4 separate regions of the Homo sapiens genome follow, and regions 2, 3 and 4 are each linked to region 1. Evidence: promoter capture Hi-C in 16 types of primary human blood cells and fetal thymus (Javierre and others, 2016). All regions are on one chromosome and are shown on one strand. Each heading gives the region's core, a stretch centred on a gene start or on the middle of the fragment in contact. The rest is flanking DNA. Distances are from core to core; before and after follow the strand shown. Region 1 holds the start of PEX10 (peroxisomal biogenesis factor 10). Region 2 has its middle 32 kb from the start of TTC34. Region 3 overlaps TTC34 (tetratricopeptide repeat domain 34). Region 4 overlaps PRKCZ (protein kinase C zeta).

Evidence for each region. Contacts are between HindIII fragments. The CHiCAGO score rates a contact against its expected background, and 5 or more counts as called.
Region 2: a fragment that was not itself captured here is called in contact with the fragment with the promoter of PEX10 in region 1 in 2 of 17 cell types (naive CD4 T cells and naive CD8 T cells); the score reaches 5.3 in naive CD4 T cells.
Region 3: a fragment that was not itself captured here is called in contact with the fragment with the promoter of PEX10 in region 1 in 11 of 17 cell types (M0 macrophages, megakaryocytes, naive CD8 T cells and 8 more); the score reaches 7.8 in M0 macrophages.
Region 4: a fragment that was not itself captured here is called in contact with the fragment with the promoter of PEX10 in region 1 in 1 of 17 cell types (neutrophils); the score reaches 5.0 in neutrophils.

The regions. Positions count from the first base shown.
Region 1 is chr1:2,410,049-2,414,322 of GRCh38, reverse strand. PEX10 (peroxisomal biogenesis factor 10) reads left to right here and starts at 1,759. Exons shown (of 6, transcript NM_002617.4): 1 at 1,759-1,932; 2 at 3,872-3,952. The coding sequence starts at 1,821. RefSeq lists enhancers at 790-1,369, 1,370-1,950, 1,951-2,531, 2,532-3,112 and silencers at 1,034-1,633, 1,794-2,173. The HindIII fragment of the contact is 16,041 bases long and covers 1-4,274 here.
Region 2 is chr1:2,831,175-2,835,448 of GRCh38, reverse strand. No RefSeq gene overlaps it. Among named protein-coding and RNA genes, the nearest start is that of TTC34, 32 kb to the right of the region's middle. The HindIII fragment of the contact is 6,524 bases long and covers 1-4,274 here.
Region 3 is chr1:2,794,446-2,798,719 of GRCh38, reverse strand. The region is part of intron 2 of TTC34 (tetratricopeptide repeat domain 34); the gene reads left to right. Among named protein-coding and RNA genes, the nearest start is that of TTC34, 5.1 kb to the left of the region's middle. The HindIII fragment of the contact is 5,722 bases long and covers 1-4,274 here.
Region 4 is chr1:2,114,834-2,119,107 of GRCh38, reverse strand. The region is part of intron 4 of PRKCZ (protein kinase C zeta); the gene reads right to left. Among named protein-coding and RNA genes, the nearest start is that of PRKCZ, 67 kb to the right of the region's middle. The HindIII fragment of the contact is 1,063 bases long and covers 1,478-2,540 here.

The DNA of each region.
Region 1 (4,274 bases), core at 510-3,009:
TGTGAGGCTGGGATTTGTCGCCCAGGGTGCAGATGAGAAGAGTGGGGAAAGCAGTCCTGAGCCAGGACAGCGGTGGGGGATGCCTCCTAGAGCAGGCCCTCCCGTCAGGGGCCCATCATAGAACCCAGTGTGAATCCAAAGGAGCCGAAGCCTCCTCCTCAGAATCAGACGTGGAGCCATGAACCCAGGGGCCAGAGCGGCATCTCAAACTGTTATCTAAGCATTGACCAGAACACATGATCACCTCAGCGGCTCCACGTGGGCGATGCCGGGTTGCCTGGTCCACGGATGAGGGGTTCAGCCCAAGGTGCTCAACCCAATCAGAGGGCAGCCTCTGTGTCCAGGAGACACGGGTGCACCCGCGGGGTCAGAACTCCAAAGGGGCGCGGGGGCGCTGGGAGGTTTGGTAGCCAGAGGGCCTGCGGGGCGGGGCCACCCAGGCCATGCCCCTTCCCTGTAAGAGGGGCCATTCCTGCAGTGTGGGGCTCTGGCTTTGTGACTGGGCTGTGCCAGTCTGGGGATGATCCCACAGCTGAGCTCCTGTAGATGGAACCAGAGGTGAGGCAAGGAACTGGAGGCCCTCCCCACTGAGGTCAGCGGGGCGCAGACGCCCCCTTGTCGTGCCCTGCCTTCCTCCTGCAATCCTGCAGGACTCTCCAGGGCCAAGTGCTGCCCTTGGGGCCAAAAAACAGGGCCTTCTCCTTCACCTGCCCTGCAGCCATTCAGGTATGTACCAGGCATCTCCTGCCCTCCCTGGCCAGGCGGCCCCAGAGGCACAGGCCGCAGACACCGCAGGCGACCTGCGTGGGCCTCCAGTTCCCGCCCCAGCCCTTCCCACCCCCAGCTCAGGGCAGGTCCAGCTGTGGCCAGCGGCTGGGGAAGGTTCTGTCCCCTCCAGGTGTGCGGCCTTGGCAAGTGCTTCAGGCCTCCCTCCGCTCGTCCCCTGGGAGCAGAGGGATCGGAGCGCCTGCGATGTGGTTCCCCAGAGCACCTGCGGGGCTCAGGCCAGGCAGGGTGGAGGGTGGAGGGTGGAAGGCCACCTTCCGCCCGTCCTGGAACCACGCGGCGGCTTCCCGGCTGCCCCCCACCCGCCAGGCCCTGCCTCCCGTGGGCACCAGGGGGGCGTCCACACCAAGCCGGCCGTGTGCTTTTCGCGCAGGATTACTGGGGAAGGCGGCTGCTCGGGGCCTGGAAGGTCCCGGGTCTCGCCTCGTGCCCCTCTGGCCCCCAAACCGACCGGCTCCCCGGAACTGGCCAACCCGCGCTGAGAGCCCGCGCAGCTCAAAGGGCGCGAGGGCGGGACCGCCGCGGCCGGCGCTGGGAGCTCGGCTTCCCGAAGACCCAAGCGAAAGCCTCCGTCTCCCCAGCCGTAAATGGGCCTGCAGCGTCTCCACTCCGCAGCGCTGTCCCCAGTGGGAGGGCGGCCCGTGGACGTGCAGGGAGCAGAGCAGGGGCCCCTGGCAGCGTAGGACCCCGAGGTCGCAGCAACCACGCGGCCGCGAGCCCATCCCGCTGCCTCGCCAGCGCCCCTCGCGCGTGCCCCGCCCCCACCTCGGCTCGCGGGCCCCGCCCCGCTCCGCTCCGCCCTGCGCCTCCGACTACCTTCCCGCTGCCCCGCCCCGCGCTGCGCTGGTTCGGACTCCAGCCCCGCTTCCGCCCGGGCCCTGGCCCCGCCTCCAGCCCCAGTCCGGCCCCGCCCCAGCACCTTGACGCAGAGGTCTGCGCCGCACGCAGAGCCACGTCGTGCCGTCATCAGTTCTCGCCCGTCTGGGCGTGGGCGTGGCCGGCGTGGCTGCTCGGGACCACCCGAACCCGCGGCCATGGCCCCGGCCGCCGCCAGCCCCCCGGAGGTGATCCGCGCGGCGCAGAAGGACGAGTACTACCGCGGTGGGCTGCGGAGCGCGGCGGGCGGCGCCCTGCACAGCCTGGCGGGTGAGGGCCGGGCGCGGCCGGACGTCCTCGCGAGCGGCCCAGGGGGTGTTGCCCCTCATGGAGGCGGGGTGTCTGCCGTGTGTGGTCACGGTCGCCTGGGCCCGTCCCACAACCTGGGACCCGGCAGTCTCCTTCGCCTGCCCTGCGGCCATTCAGGGATGTGCGGGGCACCTCCTGCCCTCCCTGGCCAGGTGGCCCCAGAGGCACAGGCCGCAGACACCGCGGGGGACCTGCGTGGGCCTCCAGTTCCCGCCCAAGCCCTTCCCGTCCCCAGCTCAGGGCAGGTCCAGCTGACGCCAGCGGCTGGGGAAGACTCTGTCCCCTCCAGGTGTGAGGCCTTGGCAAGTGCTTCAAGCCTCCCTCCGATCCTCCCCTGTGAGCAGAGGGGTCAGAGCGCCCGCGGCGCGAACGCCTCATACCTCGGTCCGGTTCACACTGACCCCGGCCTTTCCTAGGCCTGAGCAGCAGCCCAGGCCCCTCGCCCTGCTGACCCCAGTGTAGGCTCAGCCAGGCCCTGCCTGCCTCACCAGGCCGGGAGCTGAGTACAGAAGCCAGTGTACTCAATGAAGCAGCACCTGTCATCCCAGCAGTTTGGGAGGCAGAGGCGGGAGGATCGCTTGAGCCCAGGAGTTTGAAACCAGCCTGGGCAACATGGCAAGACCCCGTCTCTACAAAAAATCTGAAAATTAGCCGGACGTGGTGGCGGCGTCTGTAATCCCAGCTCTTCAGGAGGCTGAGGCAAGAGAATCGCCTGAGCCCGAGGGATGAGGCTGCAGTGAGCCATGATTGTGCCGCTGCACTCCAGCCTGGGCGACGGGGCCAGACCCCATCACCGATTAAAAAACGAAAAAAAAAAGATGCCGGGTGTGGTGGCTCACGCCTGTAATCCCAGCACTTTGGGAGGCCGAGGCGGGTGGATCACTTGAGGTCAGGAGTTCGAGACCAGTCTACACAACATGGTGAAACCCCGTCTCTACTAAAAATACAAAAATCAGCAGGGCGTGGTGGCGCGTGCGTGTAATCCCAGCTACTTGGGAGGCTGAGACAGAATCACTTGAACCCGGGAGGCGGAGGTTGCAGTAAGCCAAGATCGTGCCACTGCACTCCAGTCTGGGCAACAGAGTGAGACTCCATCTCAAAAAAAAAAAAAAAAAAAAAAAGGCAAAGCCATCAAGTCTTTGGGGGGTGGGGCAGGCAGTCGTTAAAGGCATGAACTCCCAGCAGAACGTTTCAGGGAGCAGTGGCACTAGAGCCCAGTGGTGGGGGTGTCGTGGCCAAAGGAACAGTGCCATGGGACAGGAAGAGCATGGGTAAATATCAGAGGACAGCCAGGCTCCGTGCCGGGAGGCCCATGGGTGTCAGGTGGGCAGCCATTGGTGGATTCTGAACAGGAGAGTGACATGATGAGAATTTTTTGTGTGTGTACTTACTTGTTTTACAGTACACTTGGCACTTACCCCTGTGCCAGACACTGTTCCCAGTGTTTTACAAATATTGAATCTTCAAACATCCCTCCAAGTAGGACTTATTACTCTTCTGATAGATGAGCAAATTGAGATTCCAGAAAGACCTCACAGCCAGCAAGTTGGAGAGCTGCTTTTTGATGCTAGACAGTTGGCCTCTGGCCTGTAATCTTAATACCCCAGACCATCTTTCCATGTGGCCCTCATAGGCCCTAGAACAGTTGCTCAGGGGAATCCCGGAGCAAGAGATGAGCACAGGTGGGAGATTCTTCGCAGACTGTCTGCAGCTCACGCTAAGGCAAGTCAAGGTGGTGCCTCCGGAGACAGAAGCAGAGAGGGAGGCCAGGGAGTGAGTGTTGGCTTCATGGAAGGGGTGGGACTGGATCTGGGCCTAGACAACTGGGGGAGGACTGTGGTCCCTCATCCTCAGAGGATGCCCACCAGCTCCCCCGGACTAATACTGTTTCTCCTCTCAGGTGCGAGGAAGTGGCTGGAGTGGAGGAAGGAGGTTGAGCTGCTCTCAGATGTGGCCTACTTTGGCCTCACCACACTTGCAGGTAGAAGCTCCCACGGGACCTCAGGACTGAGGGCAGCCACACACACCAAGTCTGGGGACGGTGGCCAGGGGGCTGCCAGGCAGTGTGAGAAGCTCCTGGAGCTGGCCCGGGTGAGGTTGCTTCAGGGAAGTGCAGGAGGTACTGCTCCGAGGGAGGCGAGGCATCTGCTCCCAGCAGGGAGCCGACTTTTCCAGCCTTTGTGTGTCCCTGGGGTTCTTTGTTTAAGACTTTACCCCGGGTGCCACTGAGACCCATTTCTCAGTGGCCAGCCCTGGTGGCACCAGTGAGTCACAGTGCTGAGCCATGTCATAGGGTGCAGTGC
Region 2 (4,274 bases), core at 1,212-3,711, 420 kb before region 1:
GTGGCTGTCAGAACCCGGGATCCCCGGGGCCTTGTGCCCCAGCCACACAGCTGGCTCAGCCAGAGAAGGCCAAGTTTCTAGAAGGCACTAGATGGTGGACTGCAGTGGGGGCAGGCGGCACTGGCTGCCGGGGCGAGGTCGGCCCTGGTTCGGGGCGAGGGCAGTGCACAGAGCCCCCTTTCTCCTCTCTGCCCACCCCATGGAACAGTGGAGACATGTCCAAGTTCTCCAAGGAGGTCTGCCTGTACCAGCTCCGGATCCCTGCGTGGCCGCACCTCCCGGCAAAGCCTCTTTGTCCACGGCTTCCTGGCAGGGCCCCTACTGCAGACTCCTGTTCTGTAAACACCTCACAGCCTCCGACCCCCGACTCCCTCTGGCTCCCACCTCCCCCTCCCACTCTCTGTACCCACAAACTTCCCCTGGGCACCCACTGTTCTGGGCACGCTGGCGTTTGGGGGAAGCACGCACAGGCCCGGCCCAGGGCCTGCCCAGGAAAAGCTGAGGCAAGGATGGCAATAACCGTCCTCCTAGCTCGAAGCGATGGCTGGGAAGTGGCCCGGCCCCTCCATGCCTGGTGTCCTTATCTCTAAGCGGGGAGGAAAGGTGTCCCCCTCAGAGGCTGTTTGGTGGAGCAGCGGAGATGCCACTGGGGTGAGGCATTTTTCCTGATATTTTCCCTGGGGCCGGGGAGGCATTCTCAGGGGCAGCCCAGAGCAGTGCGGTCAGCCCCCCAGAGCCCTGGGCCACACAGGACAGCGCTCAGGCCACTTCAACAGCGAAATCAGCAACAAGAAACGCACAAAGCAAGAAACACGTACTAAATCGACCTCGAGAAAGAGGCTTGCTTGGCACTGGGTACACGTCCGGGTGACCTCAGGGCACTGGGAGTATGTATTTGGAGACCACCCATAGCTTTCATCACATAGACAAATTGGTAAATGTGGAATCCGTGAATGAGGATCAACTGTACTAAAAACAAATCACTGAATTGTACGCTTTGAAAGGGTGATTGGTGACTTACACCTGGAATGCGACATACGACACGACGCAGCCCTGCCCCGAGAGCCGGGAAACAACCCAACACACCTGCAGTGGGAACGGAGACTCCTGGGGGCCCCACGGCACCGCTGCTCACCCCAGCACCTCCCAGATCCTGGGGCAGGAGCCACTGCTTCTCCATCAAACCCGCCCTCTGACCACTCCACAGCACAGTCCCCTTCGGGCGGCACACACAGGGAGGGCAGGAAGAGCAGGACAGGCACACCGAGGCAGAGCCCGAGGCTGGTTCCAGGGAATAGGTAGCATGGACACGGGGCTAGGGGAGGCGGTGAGGGGCTGGGAGGCAGGAAGACCTGGCAGAGGGAGCCCCCTGAGCACAGTCAGAGGGAGACATGGGGTGGAGTTGCATGGGATGAGGAGAAGCCCCGATGCCCGGGATGGCCCTAGTTTGCACTCACTGTCCCAGCCAACGAACAGCTTCCCCCACTCTCAAAAGCACCCCAGTCTCGGCAAACGATTCTCTGGCAATCCTGCAAAAGGGCAGCATGCATGGCTACAGCACAGTGCCGGGGTGCACGGTGGAGGGGAATAGGGCTCTCCCTCTTTCCGGGGGGGTCTTTAGCTGAAGGGGCTTCAGCCAAAACATGGACCCTGTTTCCTTCCCCACTGGAGGCAGAGGGGCCATACCTGGTCCCCCGGAGGCAGCAGCACCCTGCCTGCCATCTGAGAGACACCTGTGTTGCTTGTCTGACATCCGCTGTGAAGAGTCAGGGGAGCCTCGGTGCTGCCTGGGGAGGATGGCACAGGAAGCCCCAGTGGGGCAGCTTCCCGCCTTCGACTCTGCCCCCACCCTCTGCATCGCAGCACTCCCAGCACCTGGCCAGGATGGGAAAACATTGCAGACAGTCACCAGGGACCATCCTCTGCACGCGCTCCCTCCCGGCCTCGAGTGACTCTATTAGAGAGAGTATGTTTTATTAATATCAGATATTAAAGTTTAATACTGTGATTGCAGGGGAAAAATGGGACTTCACCTTCAAGGAGTATTAGCGGATTCCAAAGAGAGTCTGTGAGCGGGAGGCACATTTGTCACAGCTTTGCAGGATGGGCGCCCCCATCCATCACACCCTTGGTGAGCTCTCCACGCTGCTGGCGGTGGCCACGGGGTGAGTGTCGCGACCCCGTCTGGTGCTCCCACCGGGTCAGCTCCCACCCCAGGGGTCTGGGGCCACCAGGAGAGGAAGTGTAGGTGAGGCAGGGGCACCAAGACCCCAGAGAGGGGGCTACAGACTCTGCATCCTGCACCTCTGGGTATATGGCTGGGACAGAGGCCGACCCCCTTCACTGGCCCCTGATTTTATGCAGGGAGCTCTGTGGGGCCCCCTGGGGCCTTGCCTGAGCCCCCAGCCTGGAGCGTACATCCGTGGCCCCCAGTTCACCCTTGTGAGCCCCTCGGACCGTTCTCACCCCTGCATGCCTGCAATGGACAAGGGCCACCCTCTCCGCTCAGAAGCCCGGGACCAGCAGGGTGGGGCGGGTGAGGAGCCATGGTGGAGCCTCCAGAAAGGGGGCGGGGCTCACTGCAGGTTCCTGCCTTGCACTCCTTAGAACTCCTGAGCCTGGCAGTTGGGGTGGGAGCCCCAGACCCAGGCTGGAGGCCCAGCAGCGGCTCAGACCCAGCCCTTAGGCTCCTCCCCCATTCACACCATAGATACCTCCAGCCGCCCCACATGCAAATGCACAGGCCACGTCCGCCTCCGCTGGCTGCTCTCACTCCTCCCACTGGCTGCACTGGGCCTGGCTTCTCCTGAACTTTGGGCCTCCCCCCATACACCTTTCTTCTGCACCCCGTGCTGATCCATGCATGTTTATGGGGGCGATGAAATCAATGAACACATTTGGGAAGGTGCCGTTGGTAACAAAAAGAACTGGTGATCAGGCCGTCAGGCCCTGGGGGGACTGCACCCACACCCATCAGCTCATGATGGAGCCCTAGTCCTTCAGTGTGGCTGTAACAGAATACCACAGGCTGCGTAATTTACAAAGAACCGAAATGTCTTTCTAACCATTCTGGAGGCTGGGAAGTCCAAGACCGAGGTTTGGTGTCTGGTGAGGGCTGCATCCTTCAGAGGGGGACATGCTCATGCCAGGGTGGGCGAGCTCACCAAATGCTGTGGACTCCCAGTCGTGAGAGGAGGAGCCCTAATGGCCCAATCACCTCTTAAAGGCCCCTCTTAATGCCACCACATTGGCCATTGAGTTTCAACACCTGATGTTAGAGGGGACACAATCAAACCACAGCAGATGGCGAGAGCTGGGCTGGCTAAGAAAGGACTCAGTCGGCAGATGGGGAATTCCTGCCTCTCGCATCCACCCTCCCATCCCTCTGCATGTGGCAGACATCACTAATCAATCGCCACACTCACTGCTGCTCAGCCCAGACCCAGCTGGACCCTCTCCAGCACTGGCCAGGCAGCCATGCCAGTTGGTGAAAGTGGGTGTCCCAGAGGGAGTCCAGCCAGATGCCTGCCTTTTACATGGGACACAGAGGATGAGGCGGGGGGGAGGGCAAGCGGGAGTTCCTCAGTTTCCCCTCAGAAAGGAAACAAGACTGGCAGCTCTCACGTGGTGGTACTCAGGCACCCACCCCTGGGTCTCAGAGTCCAGTGCAGCACTGGGTACACAGCAGGTGCTCCCTACGTGCCTGTGGGTGGCCACGCCCAGCCCTGAGTGCAGAGCCTTCCTGAAGCTGATGCTTCCTGCGAGGCAGGCCCCACGGCCTCAGGAAGACCTCAAAGGCCACACTCATGCATTCCACTCTTCCCAGCCCCTCGGGTTCTAGGTCCAGGGAGAACACGGAAGAGTGGCTGCTCCTGAGGCCCCTCCAGTGCCTCCCCAGAGGTTTAGACCACCTCAGGGGACAGGAGCAGCTCCATCCTCAGGATTCTGGGGCCTGGTGGGTGCAGGCTGGAGAGGAAGAGCAAGCTGGGAGCAGAATCCTCATGGGCCCAGCCCTTGAAGGCTCCACAGATGGGAAACATTATCTGCAGCCACCGGGCCCTTCCTGGGAAGAACTAAGTGTAAAGAGTAGCAGAGGCCATGAGGGGAACAGACCTTCTGGCAAAGCAGCCCCGTGAGGGGGGTGGGTGCGACCTCACCCAGAGGTGACCCCTCGGCATGGACAGGTAGAGACCACACAGGAGGCCTCCAGCCCACTGCTAGCCTGGGACCTGCTCCCAGCCCCTCCTTGCAGAGCTGAGGAGACCCTGAGAGGC
Region 3 (4,274 bases), core at 520-3,019, 380 kb before region 1:
GGCTGAGAGGCTGGGACGCTGGGGGGCTGGGGAGCTGAGGGGCTGAGAGGCTGGGAGGCTGGGAGCCTGGGAGGCTGGGTGGCTGGGGAGCTGAGGGGCTAAGAGGCTGAGAGGCTGGGAGGCTGGGGGGCTGGGGAGCTGAGGGGCTGGGAGGCTGGGAGGCTGGGGAGCTGAGGGGCTAAGAGGCTGAGAGGTTGGGAGGTTTGGAGGCTGAGAGGCTGGGGAGCTAAGGGGCTAAGAGGCTGAGAGGCTGGGAGGCTGGGGGGCTGGGGAGCTGAGGGGATGAGAGGCTGAGAGGCTGGGAGGCTAGGAGGCTGGGGAGCTGAGGGGCTGAGAGGCTGGGAGGCTGGGAGGCTGGGGGGCTGGGGAGCTAAGGGGCTAAGAGGCTGAGAGGCTGGGAGGCTGGGGGGCTGGGGAGCTGAGGGGCTGAGAGGCTAGGAGGCTGGGAGGCTGGGGGGCCGGGGAGCTGAGGGGCTGAGAGGCTGGGAGGCTGGGAGGCTGGGGGGCTGGGGAGCTGAGGGGCTGAGAGGCTGGGAGGCTGGGGGTACTGGGGAGCTGAGGGGCTAAGAGGCTGAGAGGCTGGGAGGCTGGGGGGCTGGGGAGCTGAGGGGCTCAGAGGCTTGGAGGCTGGGGAGCTGAGGGGCTAAGAGGCTGAGAGGCTGGGAGGCTGGGAGGCTGAGAGACTGGGAGGCTTGGATGCTGGGCAGCTGAGAGACTGGGAGGCTGGGACAATGGTTCAGGAGAGAGTTGATGGAATTCAGATCAGGGAGAAAGGGTTGCAGAGAAACCACATGTCTGAGAGTTAGAAGTGACGAGATTGTGGGTAGATTTAATGGTGGAGAGACAGGCACAGAGAAGGAGGGTCAGGAACGTTTTCTGAGTTCATGATGAGCAACTGAACTGTGGAGGGAAGCGCGGATGGGAAAAGGGGTGTCAGAGGTTTAGACGCCCCCAGTTTGAGACACTGCTCCTGCCCGGTCCCTTCACTGCCTCTTCCTTCTGGAGGAGCACCCAGGGCCACAGCCCAGCCTACTGCCAGCACTCTGCCACCCTCGGATCCCTGAGTGCCTGAGACGAGGCTGCGTCTCCACCCCAAAGGCTGCTGTGTGGATTCAGTAAACATGCACAGCAAACCCTTAGAATAATGTCACCTACTGAGTGCTTTACACACAGTCCTTTGAGCCCATCAAGCCTCATGTCATTAGGCAGCCAGACAGGTGAGCCCTGAGGTGAGAGGAGCTCAGTTTGAAAAAGGGGGGTTTAGGGTCAGTGCAAATGAGAGGTTGAAAGTCAAGGCTCCCGACAGAGGCAGGAAGTGGGGCCACGAGGCATCCTGGAGCAGACAGGACCTCCCTGGCGTGAGTGTCCTGCAAGGCACTGCGGCTCCCTGCCCTTTCCTCGTGCCCCAGCCCCCATCCCAGGCCAGCAGACATCTGGAGGTGAGGATGGCAGTATTAGCTGCCGTTTACTGAACAGCTAGTGGGTGGGCCCCATTTGATGGGTTTGATGTGCATAATCATGGAATCTGCAGAGCAGCCACCATCCCCATGAGACACGGGGCTGCCAAGGGCATACGGAGTGCAGGCAGCTAGGACCTGGCCCCTGGGGTGCTCCTAACCGCCCTCCATACTGTGCTTCTGGGGAGGAGCAGCCCAGGAGGACAGGAAGAAGGAAGAAAATTCGGAGCCCGTGGGGTGACGGATCAGGGCCAGAAGAGAAGGGGGTTTGCAAGATAAAGACAGGTAGGCAGCCCTGAGAGTGGCCACAATGTCCGTAAGGAGAGGACAAGGAGTGTGCGTTGGGCGTGTGGTGCCGAGGTTCTTGGTGACCCCAACGAGAGGGTGGGGCAGGAACCAGTTAGAGAGAGCTGCAAAGTGAGCAGGAAAATTTGTTTCTGGAAATATGCTCAAATATGTTGAGCATTACCAGAAAATGATCAACAAAGTCACACCGAATCGTGAGCTTCTGAGGAAGGAGGGGACCCCGGGTGCCCAGAGCACAGGCACTCAGGGGCTGGTGAGGACCATGCCCACAGCAAGGGGGCTCCAGGAGGGAGGGGGCCTTCCACTTTAATGATCACGCAGGGGCAGGGCATGACTTAAGGGTGTGGGTGGGGGTCACACTAAAGCTCTCTGCAGAAATCCAGAACCCCCCAAGTGTTGCAGGCTTGGGGAATGTGAGGGAAGACCCAGCTCCTCCAGGAAGGCCACCGGAAGCTCGTCTGTGTCTGCCGTGGCTCTGGTGTGTACAGGGAACACCTGCCCTAAGAATTGTGCATCCATTAGACCCAAGTCACTTCGGTCAAGGGACTCCCCACATCGCCAGCACCAGCACAAGCATGGCTTACGATGAGAAGAGAAGAAATGAATTTTCCTATAACAGACTTTTTACAGATGCAGTTTCCTGCAACAAATGACCTTCCATCTGGAGGTTACTTTCCAAAGTCCTTGGAAACATTGCACAAACCAGTCGCTCCATTTGTGCTGCTGTGACAGAATGCCACGGGCTGGGTGATCCATAATGAGTAGAAATGAATGAGCTCCAGTTCTGGACGCTGGAAGCCCAAAACCAAGGCCCCAACAGGCTTGGGGATTCGGATTCCAAGATGGCGCCTTGAATGCTGCATCCTCACTTGGCACAAGACAGAAGAGCAAAGAGGCGAAAGGGGCTGAACTTGCATTAATCCCACCCACAAGAGCAGAGCCCTCATGGCCTAATCATCTTCAAAGATCTGACCTGTCAATACCATTACAATGGCAGTTAAGTTTCAGCATGAGTTTTGGAGGGAACAAACATTCAAACTGTAGCAAAACCCTTCTATAATCTGGGAACTTTCTTTGCCCTCTTTAGTAAGTAGACATGCAGCGATACACGATGTATGAGGACAAGATACAGAATAAATACCACTTTCCCTCAAGGTAGCTGCTAAGTAAGCATCCAGGTACCATGGCTCCCTACGTGTTTGTCTTACCAAAGGACTGGGATGACCACTTCCAATTTGTTTAAGGTTCTTCATTAAGAGCGCTAGGAAAGGTGACAAAGCATAGCTGTGATTCCTGCTTTCCTCCCAGCAAGATGCAGGGTCTGTTCTCCGTACAGAATCTGGCATGGCCTTGTGCCTTGCTGGGACCAGTAGAATATGGTAGAAGTGATGGCTTGTGCTTCAGGAGCCCAAGCCTCAGAGGCCCCACGGCTTCCACCTTCACCTTGGAATTCTCCCAGGGCCATGTAAGGAAGCTGGAATCATGACCAGTGAGAGAACACACAGACAGAGGCTCAGCTGACAGCCATCACCAAGGCCCCGGACACATGAGTGAGGCCACCTTAGAGTCTCTTGTCCGGTAAAGCCACTGGATGGCTGCAGCCACCTGAGTGACCCCTGGTAAGACCAACAGAAGAACTGTCCAGCTTAGGCCAGCCCAAACTGAGGAATAATTATGGGCAAATATAAATGGTTGGATTTTCCTTTTTGAGACAGGGTCTTGCTCTGTCTCCCAGGCTGGAGTGCAGTTGTGTGATCATGGCTCACTGCACTCAATCTCCCAGGCTCAAGCAGTCCTCCTGCCTCAGCCTCCCAAGTAGCTGGGACTATAGGTACACACCATCACAACTGGCTAATTTTTTTTTTTTTTTGTAGAGATGGGGTCTCACCACGTTGCCCAGGCTTGATTGTTGTTTTAAGCCACTAAGTTTTACAGTGGATGGTTATGCAGGAATAGTTAGCTGAAATAACTGCTGACCAGGTCAAAACATCAGTTTTGATGCATTTTAGCCAACATTTCGTCAAATATTATAATATAGAACTTAAAATTTTATGTTTCCAGAATTATATAATTCACTACATTAATAATTAATGGAATAAAGAACATATTATCATTGCAGTAGATTCAGAAAAACTGTTTTATAATATTTCACATTCCCAGAATTTTAACAATCAAGAAACAGAAGAAAACTTACTTAATTGAAAAAGATAATATCTATCCCAAACCCACCATAAATATCATACTCAATGGTGACAATTCAGAAGCCTTCCATTTAAAATCAATTACGAGGAGGCTGTGCACTCTCCCAGTTACTCATCATTGTGCTAGAGATCCTAGCCAATGCAATAAGGTAAGAAAACAAGACAGAACATGTAAGACCAGAAAGGAAGTCACAAAGTTATAATTATTCCAGGCAATATGATTAGCTATGTATATAGAAATTCCAAAAGAAGCAACAAAAAGGTATTAGACATTGTAGCAAAATTTAACAAAATATGCAAAACATTATTT
Region 4 (4,274 bases), core at 760-3,259, 300 kb after region 1:
ATAACATTAAGAGAAGTATTACTTAACAAAGCTATAATAATAAAGGGAGGAAAGTGGAATAAAAACATCTGATTAAACCAAAAGAAGGCAAGAAAGAGGGACAAAACAAAGAACAGACCGGACAAATAAGGACCCATAGCAAGATGACAAAGCTACAATGTAACACATCAGAATGACATTAAATGTAAACGGACTAAATCTTTCATTTAAAACACAGCCATTTTCAGACTGGATTAAAAATAACTAACTTCTGCTTTTAAGAGTCATTTCCAAAATATACAGAAAAGAAAGTGAAAGGATGAAAAAATAGAGCATATAAACACTAAGTCCCCTTCCCTCCCTCCCCTCATCTCACACACACACACACACACACACACACACACACACACACACAGAGCTGGTGTGGTCACACTAACATCATACAGATCAGATGTTAATGACAATAATATTTTCATCTAAAGAGCAACATTTGGCCGGGCACAGTGGCTCACGCCTGTAATCCCAGCACTTTGGGAGGCCGAAGCAGGCGGATCAGGAGGTCAGGAGATCGAGACCATCCTGGCTAACACGGTGAAACCTCGTCTCTACTAAAAATATAAAAAATTAGCTAGGCGCGGTGGCAGGCACCTGTAGTCCCAGCTACTCAGGAGGCTGAGGCAGGAGAATGGCGTGAACCCAGGAGGCAGAGCTTGCAGTGAGTGGAGATGGTGCCACTGCACTCCAGCCTGGGGGACAGAGCGACACTCTGTCTCAAAAAAAAAAAAACAAAAACATTTCATGATGATAAAAGCATCAATCAAAAGGAAGATATGGCCAGGCATGGTGGCTCACACCTGTAATCCCAGCACTTTGGGAGGCCAAGGCGGGCGGATCACCTAAGGTCAGGGGTTCAAGACCAGCTTGGCCAACATGGTGAAACCCTGTCTCTACTAAAAATACAAAAATTAACCAGGCGTGGTGGCACACACCTGTAATCCCAACTACTCAGGAGGCTCAGGCAGGAGAATCGCTTGAACCAGGGAGGCGGAGGTTGCAGTGCGCCCAGATCGGGCCACTGAACTCCACTCCAGCCTGGGTGACAGAGTGAGACTCCAAAAAAAAAAAAAAAAGAAATAATAGGCTAATCTCTCTCATAAATACAGTTGCAAAAACAACAAACAAAATAATAGCAAACTGAATCAAGCAAAATATAAAAAGGCGAACTCATCACAACCAAACGAGGCACACTACAGGAATGCCATCGGTCTACCATTAAGAGCCAATCCATAGAATTCATCGTATGAACAGAATAAAGGAGAAAAGTTCTGTCACATCAATAGATGAAGGAAAAAAAGCATCTGAAAAAATTCAGCACCATTCATATTAACAACTTTCAACTAGGAATAAAATAGAACCTCTTTAATTTGTTGGTGGGGATTTACGAAGGAAAAACAGTATTTCCGCAAACAGCACCCTTAATGGTGGAATTCTTAAAGCTTTTCCCTGAAATCAGGCACGAGAGGATGTGGCTGTCACCACTTCTGTCCCATACTGTTTTGGAAGGATCAACAGTGCCAGGGTAACAAGGCAACATCTGAAGGAAAGGCAGAAACAAACAGCCGGTCACTGACAAAATGGCAGCGCACAGAGAGGTTCCGGAGCAACCACAGACAAACTACGGGGACCAGGAGAGGCCAAGACAAATGAGTTAATCACACTTCTTTACACATTGCTATAAACAAAAAGATAAAAAAAAAAAAACTGTAAAAGTAATACGGCTTAAAACAGCATAAGCACTGAAATACCAGGGAATCATTTGAACAAAAAATGTGGATGACCGCTACACACAAGACTACAAAATATTATTGAAAGAATTTAAGGCCGGGTGCAGTGGCTTGCATCTGTAATCCCAGCACCTTAGGAGGCTGAGGCAGAAGGACCACTTGAGCCCAGGAGTTCAAGACCAGCCTGGGCAACATAGGGAGACCCTGTCTCTACAAAAAAATGCCAAAATAGCTGGGCATGGTGGTGCACACCTGTAGTCCCAGCTACTTGGGAGGCTGAGGTGGGAGGATTGCTTGAGCCCAGGAGGTCAAGGCTGCAGTGAGCCATGATCATGCCACTGCACTCCAGCCTGGGCAAGAGTGAGGTCCTGTCTGCCCCCCGCAACTCCCCTGCCAAAAAAACCCCAATCAAAGGCCTAAAGATATGTTCACGGATTGGAAACCTCAGTATTGTAAAGATGCTAATCTCCCATACTGATCAAGAAATCCAAATGCAATCCAAATGTCTTATGGAGATTTTGAAAGCAAATAAGCCAACTGTAAATGGCTTATTAACAAGCCCATGTGTATGGAAATGTAAAAAGCCAATAACCAAGATAACCTTGAAAACTAAAAACCCCAAATTGGAGACTCATAACACAAGTTACCAATGGTGATTATAAAGCAGAAGAAATCAGAACAGTACGACATGGGGGCAAAAAACAAAGGGGACAGATCAGTCCAGAAAGAGGCCCCACACACAGCCAGGACGCAAAAGCCCTAATTATAAAGTAAGCTTTTACTTTCTGTTCATCAGAAGACACCATCCATGGAGTGGAAGGCGAGCCGCGGAGTGACAGAAGCTGTTTGCAACACAAAAAATCAAAGCACTTGTCTCTAAAACACACACAGCCCCCAGGAACCAACAAAAAAGACGGACCCCCCAATGACATTGTTCTTTGACAGCCCAATTTTGAAATGGGGCAAAAGACTGGAACAGGCACCTTTAAAAGGAGGGTCCCCAATAACCCGGGAGCCTCGGAGAAGCAGCTCACCTCAGCCGTCGCGAGGCCACAGCCTAGTGCCTTTCAGATCTGCTGTGCTGGCGACAACGCAGGGCTCTGACAGTCCATGTGCTGGAAGGAGGTGCATCGGGAATTCCCACACGACCCAGAGTGACTGTGCCATCAACACAGATTCAGCCTTTGTCTCAGTTTCCCAGCGCGCAGCCCCTCTGACCCTAGGAATCCTGGAGTGCGGTAAGAGTGTCTTTTTGCATGCTAATGAGATGACGGGGAGCCGGGAGCCGGGACAGCTCCAGGATGCGGCTGGTCTTCAGCAGGACCAAGGAATGCCTAGCGGGTTGGAACTTTCCGTCCCACAGCCCACGGTCCAGAGAGGAGACAGGAGAGACTGAGGTAATCAGCAGTGGCTGGCTGTTGAATCAACCGTGCCTGTCACGAAGCCTCCACAAAAAGCCCTCAATGACATGGTCTGGAGAGTGTCCGAGTTGGTGAATATACCAAGGTGCTGGAGGGTGGCGTGCCTGGAGAGGGCACGGAAGCTCTGCACCCCCCATACCTCAGCCTCCCGTGCAGCTCCTCCGTGTGGCTGTCCTTTCTAATAAACGGGTACACTAAGCAAAGTGTTTTCCTGAGTTCCGGGAGCTATTCTAGCCCACCCGAGCCTCAGGAAGGGGTCACGGACACCCCCGATTCACAGCCAGTTGGTCAGAATCCAGGTTGTCACCTGGCACTTGCAGCTGGCTCTCAAGTAGGGGCAGGCTTGTGGGAATGAGCCCTTCATCTGCAGGGTCTGCGCTAACGTCAGGTAATTGATGTCAGAGCTGAATGGAAACACAGGACACCCAGCTGGCGCCAGAGTGGCTGTGGGTGCAGAAAACCCCACATAACTGGAGGCAGAAACACAGTGCAGAGTGCGACCTGGTGCGGCCACGCGAGGGAAACGTCTGTTTCCCGGAAACTCCACTCCTGGGTGTGCCCACATGAAAGATGCGCCACGGGCAACAGAAGGCGCTCGGATGTCTGTGGCCAAAAGCCGGGACCCCGGTGCCTCGCAAGATGAGGGTGGATACATAAGACGTGGAGAATTCAGCCAGCAGAGCAGCCCCGCAGTGGGGACGGACACGGCAGAACCGCACCCCACACCACGGGAAAGCCCCACACAGGGGCCCGACTGAGCGGCCACACCCAGGGTGGATGGCCCCGGATCCCAAGACAAAAGCTCGAAACAAGCAAAACTATCTGCAGGCACCAAGGCCGGGGACGGGTAGGTTACGCCTGGGGTCACCTCGGGGTGTGGGGGTGGCCCCGCGTCCAGAGGACAAGCTACACACGGATCAGCTATGTGACGCGGTGCAGTTTGCTTTGTAAAAACTCGTGGAGTTGAACGCTTCAGATTTCATGTTTTAGGGAGTTTTGTTTCAATTTTAAAAAGTCAAGAAAGAAAAAGAAATCAGAGAATGGAGGCACCCAGGCCGTAACATTCTTTCCATAAGAAAAGCTGAAACCC